Linked DNA regions of Homo sapiens: region 1 is linked to region 2. Evidence: promoter capture Hi-C in human tissues and cell types (Jung and others, 2019). All regions are on one chromosome and are shown on one strand. Each heading gives the region's core, a stretch centred on a gene start or on the middle of the fragment in contact. The rest is flanking DNA. Distances are from core to core; before and after follow the strand shown.

What was found. The method cuts DNA at HindIII sites, captures the fragments that hold promoters and counts their contacts. A contact is called where the count stands out against the background at its distance.
Region 1: a contact is called between the fragment with the promoter of ZNF700 here and the fragment with the promoter of CARM1 in region 2, in 1 of the 25 tissues and cell types used here (pancreas).

Annotation. Positions count from the first base shown.
Region 1 is chr19:11,923,769-11,930,533 of GRCh38, forward strand. It overlaps ZNF700 (zinc finger protein 700), which reads left to right and starts at 1,339. Exons shown (of 4, transcript NM_144566.3): 1 at 1,339-1,505. The coding sequence starts at 1,443. It also overlaps a transcript of ZNF69 not described here. RefSeq lists enhancers at 1-35, 36-825, 982-1,554, 1,002-1,051, 1,102-1,211 and a silencer at 1,602-1,801. The HindIII fragment of the contact is 4,963 bases long and covers 1-3,340 here.
Region 2 is chr19:10,866,411-10,872,834 of GRCh38, forward strand. It overlaps CARM1 (coactivator associated arginine methyltransferase 1), which reads left to right and starts at 5,143. Exons shown (of 16, transcript NM_199141.2): 1 at 5,143-5,512. The coding sequence starts at 5,293. C19orf38 (chromosome 19 open reading frame 38) reads left to right here. Exons shown (of 7, transcript NM_001136482.3): 7 at 2,808-3,380. The coding sequence ends at 2,957. RefSeq lists silencers at 4,403-5,192, 5,323-5,372, 5,463-5,672 and an enhancer at 6,413-6,424. The HindIII fragment of the contact is 23,799 bases long and covers 1-6,424 here.

The DNA.
Region 1 (6,765 bases), core at 89-2,588, 1.1 Mb after region 2:
TGTCTCGCGAAACTAATCGATGGGGTGAGAAGTAGCTGAATAACCTGCAGGGGGCAGCAGAGCCCAAGGCCAGTGATTCCACGTTGAGGACAGTCTCTGCAGCCTGCAAAGGGAGGGAAAGAGAGTTTCCCTGGGGGCTTCGCGGGCAGCCCACCCCCTTCTACAAGTGGCCTCCAGCTGCTCAGAGCAGCTCCAGAAAGGGTGTGGATTCCGAGAAGCTGCAGAGCCCTGGAAAGCAGAAGACCCATGTGCAGACGCATTTGTGGCGTCTCTGTCCTTTCTGGTGTTGTACCTCTGGAGCTGTCTTCTGGGCAGGGTTTGGGGTTTGACATGCATGGGGTCGTTGGGGTCAGAGTTATTTGTATAGATAAAGAAAATGTGTGGCCGGGCGCGGTGGCTCACGCCTGTAATCCCAGCACTTTGCGGGGCCGAGGCGGGCGGATCAAGAGGTCAGAAGATCGAGACCATCCTGGCTAACACGGTGAAACCCCGTCTCCACTGAAAATACAAAATATTAGCCGGGCGTGGTGGCGGGCGCCTTTAATCCCAGCTACTCCGGAGGCCGAGGTAAGAGAATGGCGTGAACTCGGGAGGCGGAGCTTGCAGTGAGTCGAGATCGCACCACTGCACTCCAGCCTGGGCTACAGAGCAAGACTCCGTCTCAAAAAAAAAAAAAAAAAAAGAAAGAAAGAAAAGAAAATGTGTGAAGATCAGGCTAGAGCTAGAGACAGAATTGTTTGGTGGCGTCACCTGGATAAAGGGTTCATGAAGTTGACAGTTTACTTAGGTCAGAAACAAAACCTGGTGAGAGTTTCCTGCTGGTGAAAATGAAGATCTGAAAGGAGGAAGCATTTTCACAAGGGGATGGGGGTGTGTGAGCAAGGCTTGGCCACGCCTCATCCCCAATTCCGGCCCGCTCGAGGACATATGCCTCTCCTCCTGGTGCAGTCGTGCCTGGCCTGGTCTCGGTTCCCCTGCTGCTCTGAGGCCAGCAGTTGGCTCCTATGGACACTGAGTCTGAAATTCCCTGCACACTCCTGTGACCCCGTGCAGAACGAAGGAGCGGGGACTGTCCCTTGAGTGAGGATGACGCTAGTGTTCTCTTCTATCAATAGCAAGTTTGGCTGAAATGCAAATATCCAATAACCAGAGTGCAGAAAGCAGCTCGCCCTTAGAGAAGCTGTGGCTAGAATCCGTCAGTCTGGCTCTGCGGGGCCTGATACCCAGGGCTTCAGCTGTCACTCAGATGTGGGGGGCGGGACCTAGTATTTCATCCAATCAGAGGTGCTGGGGCGTGGCACTGCCCACAGTTCATCCGGAAATGGAGGGGGTCGCTTTCCTCACCTTCCTCGCTGCGCGGGCGGCGGTTGGTAACCGGTCAGACCAGCCCGAGAGGGACCTGGTGCCTGTACCCAGGCTTCTGTCGCTCTGTCGCCTGCGCTATGCCCTGCTGTAGTCACAGGAGCTGTAGAGAGGACCCCGGTACATCTGAAAGCCGGGAAATGGTGCGTGTGCGGGACCAGATGTCGTGAGACGGGGGAGGGGCTGCCTGGAACAGGCGGGAACCGGCTGTGGCGGGACCCGGGCCTCCCTGTGGGCGACTCCGGGGTCTGGGACCGAGTCCTCCTTGAGCAGTTCGGCCCTCGGTCCCCTTGGCCGCTGGACGGGGCTGGGCCAGCAGCCAGGACCCGGGCGTCCTGTCCCGTCCCTGCGCGGCGACTGCGGCCGCGGCCCCTGCCCCGGAGCCCTCTCTGGGCAGTTCCGCTCCCGCAGCCCCGCGTCTCCCCAGATTGTGCGGAAGCAACGGGAGGGTCATGGAGGCATCCTGACTCGGGTGTGGGGTTCGTGCGTGGGAGGAGCAGTGGTCTGTGGGGCCCCCAGTCCCCACTTTCTCCTGTTAAAAATTAAACTGAGGTACGTTAACAATTAAAGAGTTCATTTGAGCAAACAGCGATTCACGAATGAGAAACACCCCGTCCTGGGTTGTGGTTTGTCAACGGAAAAAGCCAAACTATGTAAAATAAAGAAGTTTATTCAGAGCCGAATAGGAGAGACCTTGGCCGAGGGAAACACAACCCCAAGCAGCCTGGAGTAAGTGGTCCCGAGGCGGCTCAAGACAGTTTGGTTTTATTCATTTCAGAGAGACAGGAATTGCAGGGAAAATGATGAATCAGTGCCTGAAAGGTGTAAGTTCCATTGGCAGAAAGGGTGGGACCTGTGGAAGGGGGGTTAGAAGGCACAGGTGGTTGAGGGATTCTGTAGGTGGCAGCTGGTTGAGAGTGTGAAGTTTGTCTAAAGTTTGGAGGAGGTAGGAAGGAAGGGGGTCTGTTATCTGCCACTTGATTCCATCCCAGCCAGAAAACAGACCTGTTTCTCTAGATTTTATGAATTCTGAGGCGTGACTTTACTTTTGCCTTGCGTGGCCTTAGGTTTTGTTTGTAAGTTAGTATCTTCTTGCCACAAGCAGTCTGTTTTTCCATTCTATCTATTTTTACATGAATGTGTGGGAGAGGGTATAAGGAGACCTGTCTCACCTCCCATCCTGTCATACAGAGGCACTCAATTTTCAGGGTTTTTTGCGGGTCCTGTTGGCCAAGAGCCGGTCACTTCACTTAGCTGGAAAGGTACTTTGTTTTTATTTGAGACGGAGTCTCCTGTCGCCCAGACTGGAGTGCAATGGCCTGATCTCGGCTCACTGCAACCTCCACCTTCCGGGTTCAAGTGATTCTCCTGCCTCAGCCTCCTGAGTAGCTGGGATTGCAGGCATGCACCACTATGCCCTCCTAATTTTTGTATTTTTAGTAGAGATGGGGTTTCACCATGTTGGCCAGGCTGGTCTCGAACTCCTGACCTCAAGTGATCCACCCACCTCAGCCTCCCAAAGTGCTGGGATTACAGATGTGAGCCATCTCGCCGGGCCAGAGGTATGTTTTTATTTTTAGTTTACCAGTTTAGGGGTAAGCTTTTATAAGTTACGTGAGGAGACAAACCAGATAAATGCTTGATTGGTTGCAGAGATGCAGTTGCCTTATTTGGACTTGTCACTCCGAAATAATAGAAAGGTCAAGATTTCAGTTGGAAGAGTTTATTCAAGCGGAAGGATAGCAGTGGCCCATTTGGGAAAAACACAGACTCTAGGGAAATAGACTCAGTACTCCAAAACTGGAAGTTAAGTTCTTGCTTGTATTACCAGGAAAAGAGGTCCTGATCAGACCCCAGGAGAGTTCTTGAATCTCACACAGGAAGGAATTCAAGACGAGTCACAAAGTGCAGTGAGAAGAGAGTTTATTGAAAGCTACTCTGGGCCAGCATGATGGCTTAGGCCTGTAATCCAAGCACTTTGGGAGGCCAAGGTGGGAGGATAACTTGAGGTCAGGAGTTCGAGACCAGCCTGGGCAACATAGTGAAACCCCATCTCTTCCAAAACTAGCAAAAATTAGCCGGGTGTGGTGGCCTGCACCTGTAGTCCCAGGTGTTCAGGAGGCTGATGTGAGAGAATCACTTGAACCCCAGAGGCAGAGGTTGCAGCCCAGCCGAGGATGTACCACTGCACTCCAGTGTGGGTAACAGAGTGAGACCCCATCTCAAAAACCAAAACAAACAGGAAAGAGGTCAAGACCAACCTGGCCAACACAGCGAGACCCTGTCTCTATTTAAATAAATAAATAAATAAATAAATAAATAAATAAATAAATAGAAAAGGAAAAAGAAAGAAAAAGCTTCTCTGTTTCAGAGTAGGGCATCCTCATACAGCAAGTGGAGGAACGTACTGTCTTTAAGTTTTTCTTATGTAGGGATCTTTTCTATGTAAAGAATAAACTACCTGTGCCTATGTGCATGTGGGCTGACAGCATCACAAAATTTATTACTCTGTTGATTTAAAGAAAACTATCCTTTACATTTTAGCACCCAAGTGCATTAAAACATAACTATAATTATCTTGAAAGCACATATTGTTATAGGTATTGGGACATCAGGACATTCTATTGTTGTGGGAGTGTAAGGATACTTGCAGGCATCTTCAGGCTGTTTTCTTCATGGGAAACATTTTGTGATCATGGGTTGTGACTGACAAGGAGTGTTTCTTGTTAGTGTCAAGATGGAGCTGAACTTAAATTGGTGTTACTCTGGCTCCCCTAGGCACCTGCTTCCCTAACACTTGTATAGGCAAAAGGCAAATAAATGTAACAGGATTATGTTTTCCATAGAAGGCTGATGTATGAGATACAACAATTTTTTTTTTTTTTGAGACAGTATCTTGCTCTGTGACCCAGCCTAGAGCAGTGGTGCGATGATGGCTTACTGCAGCCTTGACCTCCCCAGCTCAAGCACCTCCGCCTCTCAAGTAGCTAAGACTACAATTGCCCACCAGCACACCTGGCTAATTTTTTATTTTTTACAGAGGTTAGGTCTCGTTATGTTGCCCAGGCTGGTCTCTGGCTCCTGGCCTCAAACAGTCCTGCTTCCTTGGCCTCCAAAAGTGCTGGGATTACAGATACAGATATCAGCCACTGCACCTGGCTAACAACTTAATTCGTAATGGTTTACTTTTTTCCCCCAGAGCTTGTTTTCTTTTCTTTCTAGCTGGTTTTTATTTCCTTTTCAATTTAAGAGTGAATTTAACATTCCATCTGAAGACAATCTGATAGCCATGAAATCTTTGTGTGAGAAAGTAGTCTCTGGGCCGGGCGCGGTGGCTCACGCCTGTAATCCCAGCACTTTGGGAGGCCGAGGCGGGCGGATCACGAGGTCAGGAGATCGAGACCATCCCGGCTAAAACGGTGAAACCCCGTCTCTACTAAAAATACAAAAAATTAGCCGGGCGTAGTGGCGGGCGCCTGTAGTCCCAGCTACTTGGGAGGCTGAGGCAGGAGAATGGCGTGAACCCGGGAGGCGGAGCTTGCAGTGAGCCGAGATCCCGCCACTGCATTCCAGCCTGGGCGACAGAGCGAGACTCCGTCTCAAAAAAAAAAAAAAAAAAAAGAAAGTAGTCTCTGTAGTCTTACTACAGAGATCAGTAGTGAAGAGGGGCCTGGTAGGATGGCTCACACCTGTAACCCCAGCACTGTGGGAAGCCAAGGCAGGTGGATGGCTTGATCTCAAGAGTTCAAGACCAGCCTGGGCAACATATTGAGACCCCATCTCATTTGTGAAAAATCATATTAATATAAGTTAAAAAAAATAGTGGAGAGGGAAAGGGTCTTTCCTGTTTCCCTTCAGTCATTTACAACATTTTACAAAACGCTATAGGTAGGAAAGAAGGCGAATCTGTAATCAGGGAATGGAGGATTCCAGCTAGCTATGTGAAAGCTGTGTGTCAGGTCACTCAACCCCATGATCACATTGCTTCAAGATAATTTAAAGATCTACCAGCTTAAATTTTTGAATTACTTTGTTGTTTTTGTTGTTTGTTTTGAGATAGGGTCTCACTCTGTCACCCAGGCTGGAGTGCAGGCGCGATCTCAGCTCACTGCAGCCTCCGCCTCCTGGGTTCAAGTAATTCTCCTGCCTCAGCCTCCCAAGTAGTTGGGATTACAGACATGTGCCACCACACTCAGCTGATTTTTGTATTTTTAGTAAAGACAGGGTTTTACCACACTGGCCAGGCTAGTCTCAACTCCTGTCCTCAAGTGATCCACCCACCTTGGCCTCCCAGAATGGTGGGATTACGGGTGTGAACCACTGCGCCCGGCCTGACTCATTTGTTCAAACAGCCTATGTAGGTAGAAAATTTCTAGGTATGTAATTCCAAGGTAATAGGTAAATTGTGCCTGATTAAGCATGAATTTTATTTCCCTATACATTAGTAATTTCTGAGAGTTGTATTTAAATTCGATTTCAGGGTCCTTAGGTAGGACCTTAGGACACTACACACAGTTCAGTCTCATTGCTTGTTATTTAAATTTTTCCACACTTTCCAGGGCAACTGGTTCCCCCTTATATTTTCCAAATATATGGGATGCCGGATCTCAAATCCTCCACCCTCATACCACAGCCTAACTCTTCAAGGGCTTGCAGTGAAATCTGTTTCTGAACATTTCACATGAGAGGAAAGCAGAGAATAACCACTAGACATTTGCCTGAAAAATCCTTTCTGCCTCTCCTCCTTTTATCTTTCCTAGACACAGACACCTTATCAGGATGTCTTTGGGATGAGGTTCCTTTATGGAAACTTTGCAGGGTGATATGTCTTCAGTACACCCTCCTATCTTTTCCAGATTTTGAGTTTTAGAACTGCCTGTAGCTGACCCAAGACCCCCACAATTGCCATGTCTCTTGGAGGGTCTAGTGGGTATCTGTGCCTAGGGGAGTGGGGCCTCCCAAGGGAGCAGCTGAATGACTAGTGGTGGAGGAGATGCCTGGTATACTTTTCATCTAGATACCCAGTTCGTGGGTGCTCACCTTCTCTCTCCTAACTTCAGTTTCCATTAATTGGAGACACATGGCCAATCAGCTAATTGGATGTTGCTATTGAGGAAAAACAGAAATGATTCCTGTCCTTTGGATTGTCTCAACTGTGAAGAGAGAAATATCCCAAAAGACAAGGAAAGGCCACCCCAACAAGGTTGTATTTAGCTGTCCTACAGGGAGGTGGTCACCAGAATGCAGTTGTGGAACAAATATATGTGAGTTGACCACATGGAGGAACTGGGAGGAGGTGTAGAACTGGAAACTCTGTTGAGTTTGAGTAAAGTTTACTTCTGTTATGAGAATGTTAAATCTATAATCAAAATGCATGCTAAGGTAACATATCAATATAAGAAC
Region 2 (6,424 bases), core at 3,893-6,392:
TGTCAGGCTAGTCTCGAACTCCTGACCTCAAATGATCCACCTGCCTCAGCCTCCCAAAGTGCTGGGATTACAGGCGTGAGCCACCAGGCCCGGCCTTTTTTTTAAGATACAGTTTCACTTTGTTGCCTAGTCTGGAGTGCAGTGGTACGATCTTGGCTTGCTGCACCCAGGTTCAAGCAATTCTCATGTCTCAGCTTCCCGAGTAGCTTGGATTACAGGCACATGCCACCGCGGCTGGCTAAAGTTTTTTTTTTTGGAGACGGAGTTTCGCAATTATCGTCCAGGCTGGAGTGCAGTGGTGCCATCTGCAGCCTCCACTTCTGGGGTTGAAGCGATTCTCCCACCTCAGCCTCCCAAGTAGCTGGGACTGTAGGTGCCTGATACCACACCTAGCTAATGTTTGTATTTTTAGTAGATACAGGGTTTCACCATGTTGGCCTGGCTCGTCTTGAACTCCTGACCTCAGGTGATCCACCCACCTCAACCTCCCAAAGTGTTGGGATTATAAGCATGAGCCACTGCACCCAGCCTAATTTTTGTATAATTTTTGTATATTTTTAGTAGAGACAAGGTTTCACCAAGTTGGCCAGGCTGGTCTCAGACTCCTGACCTCAAGTGATCTGCCCGCCTCGGCCTCCCAAAGTGCTGGGGTTACAGGCATGAGCCACCGTGCCCGGCCCAGAAATTTCTCATCCTCCCAAACTTGTCTCCGTGCAACACCCACTCCCCGTTGTCCCTCCCCCAGCCCCTGGCACCCACCATTCTCCTGTCTCTGTGGATTTGCCTCTTCTGGACATCTCATGGATATGAGATCACATGATATTTTTCCTTTTGTGACTGGCCTGTTTCGCTGAGCTTGATGTCCTCAAGGTTCATTCATGCCATACGTAGCCTGTGTCAGAATGTCCTTCATGGCAGGCACGGTAGCACATGCCTATAATGCCAGCACTTTGGGAGGCCAAGGCGGGCAGATCACCTGAGGTTGGGAATTCGAGACTAGCCTGACCAACACGGAGAAACCCCATCTCTACTAAAACTACAAAAAAAAAAAAAAAAAATTAGCCGGGCATGGTGGCACATGCCTGTAATACCAGCTACTCGGGAGGCTTAGGCAGGAGAATCACTTGAACCCAGGAGGCGGAGTTGCTGTGAGCTGAGATCACGCCATTGCATTCCAGCCTGGGCAACAAGAGCGAAACTCCATCTCAGAAAAAAAAAAGGAAGAACATTCTTTTTTTTTTTTTTTTTTTTTTTTTTTTTGAGACAGTGTCTCACTCTGTCGCCCAGACTGCAGTGCAGTGGTGTGATCTCGGCTCACTGCCACCTCTGCCTCCCAGCCTCCAGCGATTCTCCTGCCTCAGCTTCCCAAGTAGCTGGGATTACAGGCGCCTGCCACCATGCCCGGCTAATTTTTGTAGTTTTAGTAGAGATGGGGTTTCACCATGTTGGCCAGGCTGGTCTTGAACTCCTGACCTCAGGTGATCCGCCCGCCTCGACCTCCCAAAGTGCTGGGATTACAGGTGTGAGCCACCGTGCCCAGCCTGTTCTTCCTTTTTAAGGCTGAATCATATTGTGTTGTATGGATACACCAAGTTTTGTTGATCCATTCAATTGTTGATGGACACTTGGGTTGTTTCCACCTTTTGGCTGTTGTGCAGAACCGTGCCATGACCATGGGTATGCAAATTTCTTTTGGAGTCTCTGCTTTCACTTCTAGTTTCCTTTTGAAGCCTTATACTGCTTTGTCGTTGGCTGAAATGGTAAGGCAGCAGCTGACCTGTCTCTAGCTTTCCCCATTACCTTGCTGAGTGTCTGATATGCAACTTTGTAACACCCTTTCAGGTGGGATCGATTATTTTCTTTTTACGAACAAGGACACTGAGGCTGATAATGGGCCTAGGGTCACCCAGCTTGGGAGGGACAGGACTGTGGGTGGAACCCCCAGCCTGCTGTCAACTGAGTGGCTTTAGTTCTAGCAAATTCATCTCTCTTTAACTAGGATCAGGGTCAGGAGCCTCCAAGGCAGAGGAGGAGGTAGACTTTTGAGGAATGTTTTGCCCATGGGCAAATGGGAGGGGAGGAGGAGATAATACTATTTATTTTTTATTTATTTATTTTTTTGAGACCAAGTCTCACTTTGTTCCCCAGGCTGGAGAGGAGTGGCAGGATCTCAGCTCACTGCAACCTTCACCTCCTGGGTTCAGGTGATTCTCCTGCCTCAGCCTCCCGAGTAGCTGGGATTACAGGCGTGCACCACCACACCTAATTTTTGTATTTTTCTGAGAGGGTTTCACCATGTTGGCCAGGCTGGTCTCGAACTCCTGACCTGAGGTGATCCACCCACCTCGGTCTCCCAAAGTGCTGGGATTACAGGCGTGAGCCACTGGGCCCAACAGAGGAGATAATATGAATGGTTGTGTTCACTTAGCAAAGAAGAGCTTACGATGTGCCATTTGCTTTATCAGTTTTACTCTTTTAAGCCTCATAGCAGCCCTAGGAAGTGGTGGGTACTAGCATTCTGCCCGTTTTGCAGAAGGGGAAACTGAGGTATAGAGGGGTGAAGCCACACAACTGAGGTTACACTGCTATAAAGTGAAGGAACTGGTGTTTGAATCCATGCTCTCTGGTCCCCAGTTTAGCAGAGAGGAAGGCAGGAGAAGGGAAGACCAGGACAGGTGGGTGTGGGTGGGGGCGGGATGAGAGGAGACCTGCTGGGCTGGCAGAGTCTCAGGCTCAGAACATGGAGAAACCCTAGATCCTGAAACCCCAAATCACCCACTTCTGTGTTTCTTCTTACATGGACAAAGAAAACGATGCCAGAAGAAGACCCGGCCACCTTGGATGATCACTCAGGCACCACTGCCACCCCCAGCAACTCCAGGACCCGGAAGAGGCCCACTTCCACGTCCTCCTCGCCTGAGACCCCCGAATTCAGCACTTTCCGGGCCTGCCAGTGAGGCTGAGGACTGGGGGACCCCTCTGTCTCCAGGCATTCGGGGGCCTGAGGTCCCTCCAGCTACTTCTGGGGGGGCTCTGTCAGCCACTTTCTCAGGGAATTGGACAGAGGAAAGGAAGGGGAACCCTGGCCTTGGGATTTTCATCACAGAGGAGTGGGAGAGGGGACACAGGCATGGGCCTGGCACTATACAGACAACAGGAAGTTCCCCTCTCGACCTTCGGCTCCTCAGGACCACCAGAGAAGGAGATGTCAGGACCCCTTCTTGTCCCCCAGCTGGGCCATAAGACGTCCCAGGTCTCTGCACACCCGTGGAATTCCTCCCTTCCCCAGTGGGTTTTTGAGCATAGGGTGCCCTTGGGTGTGTTGTGTGTCTGCCTGCTGGCTTGCTTAAGTTATTAATTATAACACGGGTCAAGGTGTTCCCAGGCCTCTATGGAGTGGAATCCTTCAAGCTGGGGACCTCTGGATCCCATGGTTGGATGGCTGGGGGGTGGAGCGTGTCTGAATTCACCAAATTTGAAGCATCTCTCAAGGGCAGTCAGGGTGGTGTATGCGGAGCCTCCTGGGGGTGTGGGGAGTGCAGCAGTGCCATGCCAGGGTCTCTGCAACGGTACTTGCATTAGAGGGTTTAGGAGGTGGAATGACAGGGGCTACGGGTGAGGGACATGAAGGAGAATGAGGGCCCCTCGCAGTGGCTCACACCTATAATCCCAGCACTTTGGGAGGCCGAGGCAGGGGGTTGCTTGAGCCCAGGAGGTTGAGGCTGCAGTAAGCTATGATGGCACCACTGCACTCTAGCCTGGGCAACACAGTGAGACCCTGTCTCAAAAAACAAAAGGGGCCGGGCGCGGTGGCTCATGCCTGTAGGCCCAGCACTTTGGGATGCCGAGGCGGGCGGATCACCTGAAGTCAGGAGTTCAAGACCAGCCTGACCAACATGGTGAAACCTCGTCTCTACTAAAAATAAAAAATTAGCTGGGCGTGGTAGAGCATGCCTGTAGTCCCAGCTACTCGGGAGGCTGAGGCAGGAGAATCACTTGAACCCGGGAGGCGGAGGTTGCGGTGAGCTGAGATCGAGCCATTGCACTCCAGCCTGGGAGACAGAGCGAGACTCCGTCTCAAAGAAAAAAAAAAAAAAAAAAAAGGAATGAGGCGTAAATGAGGTCTAGGGAAGAGTTAAAGCTGGAGTGCTAGGAAGTGGCCCAAGCTCACTGGGTCGCCCAAAAGAGATGGGGCCACCCAAAATGAAGGGGGATGCAGAGAGAAGACGGGTTTGTGTGGCGGGAGAGGGGCCCTGCGCCGGGCCAGGCTGGACTCAGCATCGTTGGAGGAGGGGCTGAGAGAGGAGGGGGTCAAAGGATATCTTGTGCGAAAGGAGACAGTCAAACATTAAGGATTAAGAAGGCAATGTGGGCAGAGATGATGGGGAAGGGAGGAGGAGCGGTCGAATGTCGGGGAGGGGTCCTTTCAACCGGGCTCAGGTTGCTCCTGGAGGCCAGGGCTCATCGGAAATCGTCGGTGCGGGGGCGGTGGGGGGAAGGGTTGGGGGCGAGGCCCGGGCGCTGGCCACGCCCTTTCCCCCGCCCATTCCCCAGAGCGGGGCGGCTGACAAAGCGAGTCCGGGTGGGAGGGCGCGGGCAGGCACGGGGGCGGGGCCTCGTCGCGGCTGGGCCACGCCTCCCTGAGGGCTGCCTCACAAAGCCGGGCGGGCCCGGGGGGGTGGGGCCCAGTCTCAGGGGCGTGTCCAGGTCGGGGCAGGGAAGCCGCATCACGACGCGCGGCTGCTTGTGTGGGGCGGGGTACAGGGCGTGTCCACGCGGCCGAGCACCGCCCCCGCCGTCCCCGCACCGCCTCACTCGAAAGCAGCCGTTAATGAGGCGCCGGCCTGGGGGCGGGGCCCAGGCCTCCGAGGGGCGTGCCCGCGCGCCCGAGCACCGCCCCCGACGTACCCTCCCGCCCCGCAGTTCCCGGGCGGTGGAGCCACCTCACAAAGCGGCGACCGTTCTCGCGGGGCGGGGCGTAGCCGGTCCCGCCCCACGGGGTGCCCTCTCGTTCGCTCGCTAGCTCCCCGCGCCCAGGACGGCCGGCAGAGGGCGCTGCGCCACGGGGCCGGGCCGCGGCGACGGTGGCGGCGGCGGCGGCGAGGCGGCGCGTGGCCGGCAGGCGGCGCTGCCCGGCTCGGCCTCGGCCTGCACGGCGGCTGCGGCGGCGGTAGCGGCAGCGGCGGCGGCGGCGGCGGCGGCGGCGGCGGCGGCGGCGGCGGCGGCGGCAGCGGCGGCGGCCTGGGCCCGGGCGCAGCGGCGGCGGCGGCGGGGCCTGGAGCCGGATCTAAGATGGCAGCGGCGGCGGCGGCGGTGGGGCCGGGCGCGGGCGGCGCGGGGTCGGCGGTCCCGGGCGGCGCGGGGCCCTGCGCTACCGTGTCGGTGTTCCCCGGCGCCCGCCTCCTCACCATCGGCGACGCGAACGGCGAGATCCAGCGGCACGCGGAGCAGCAGGCGCTGCGCCTCGAGGTGCGCGCCGGCCCGGACTCGGCGGGCATCGCCCTCTACAGCCGTGAGTACGGGGCCCCGGGGCAGGCGCAGGGCCGGGGCTGCTCACGAGGCCGGCCCGGGGCGGGGGCCGGCGGGGAGGGGCCCTGAGCGCGGGGGCCTGGCGTGGGGTCCCCGGGACTGAGCCGGTGGCCTGCAGGGAGCGACCGTGGAGGGCCGGTGCCAGGGGACAGACAGAGAAAAGAGGGCGTGCGTGGTGGCCGGAGGGGCAAGGTGCCCAGAGTGAGCAAGGGAGCGCGAAATGGGGAGTGAAGGGCCTGAGATTTGGGAGGGGTGGGTGAGCAGGAAGTGGGGGGCTCTGAGTGGAAGGGGAATTTGGAGGACGCCAGGCGTGGTGGGCTTAAGCGTGGGGGAGGGAGGTCCGGGGTGCGGGAGAGGTGGGCGTCTCGGGGGCGGGCGTGGCCGCCTCTGCAGGGAGGAGGGTGGGGCGTGGGCGGCCCGGGATCCCTCTGGGGACCCCCTGGATAGCTCAGGACGGTTGGAAAGTGTTTGCTGGTCTGGGGCGCCCGCGAGTACCGAGTTCCACCGCTGTGCGAGGTGTGGCGTTCAGGACCCCCGAATGGGAAACTTCAGGATCTGGGGAGAGGGCCCATGCGGGGACGGTGGGAGCCGCAGGGTGAGCTCCTCGTGGAAACGTGGACGGGACGGGCCCCTTCCTGATGCCGGGCTTCGAAGTAAGAGCTAACAGCCTCCTCCCATCTTCTTTTGGGGGATGTGAGAAGCTGGTTACATTTTCCGAAGCTGCTTTCAAAACTGACATTTCACTGGGGGGAAAAGAAAATCACAAATGCGTTTGCCAGCACCCCCCACCCCCGCTCCCAGTCTTTGTAGTTCATTCTTCTTCTTGTTACTCCTTCTTATCTCTTCTCTTTGATTCCTTGTTCACATTTTGCTACTCTGTGTCATTTGGCTTTGT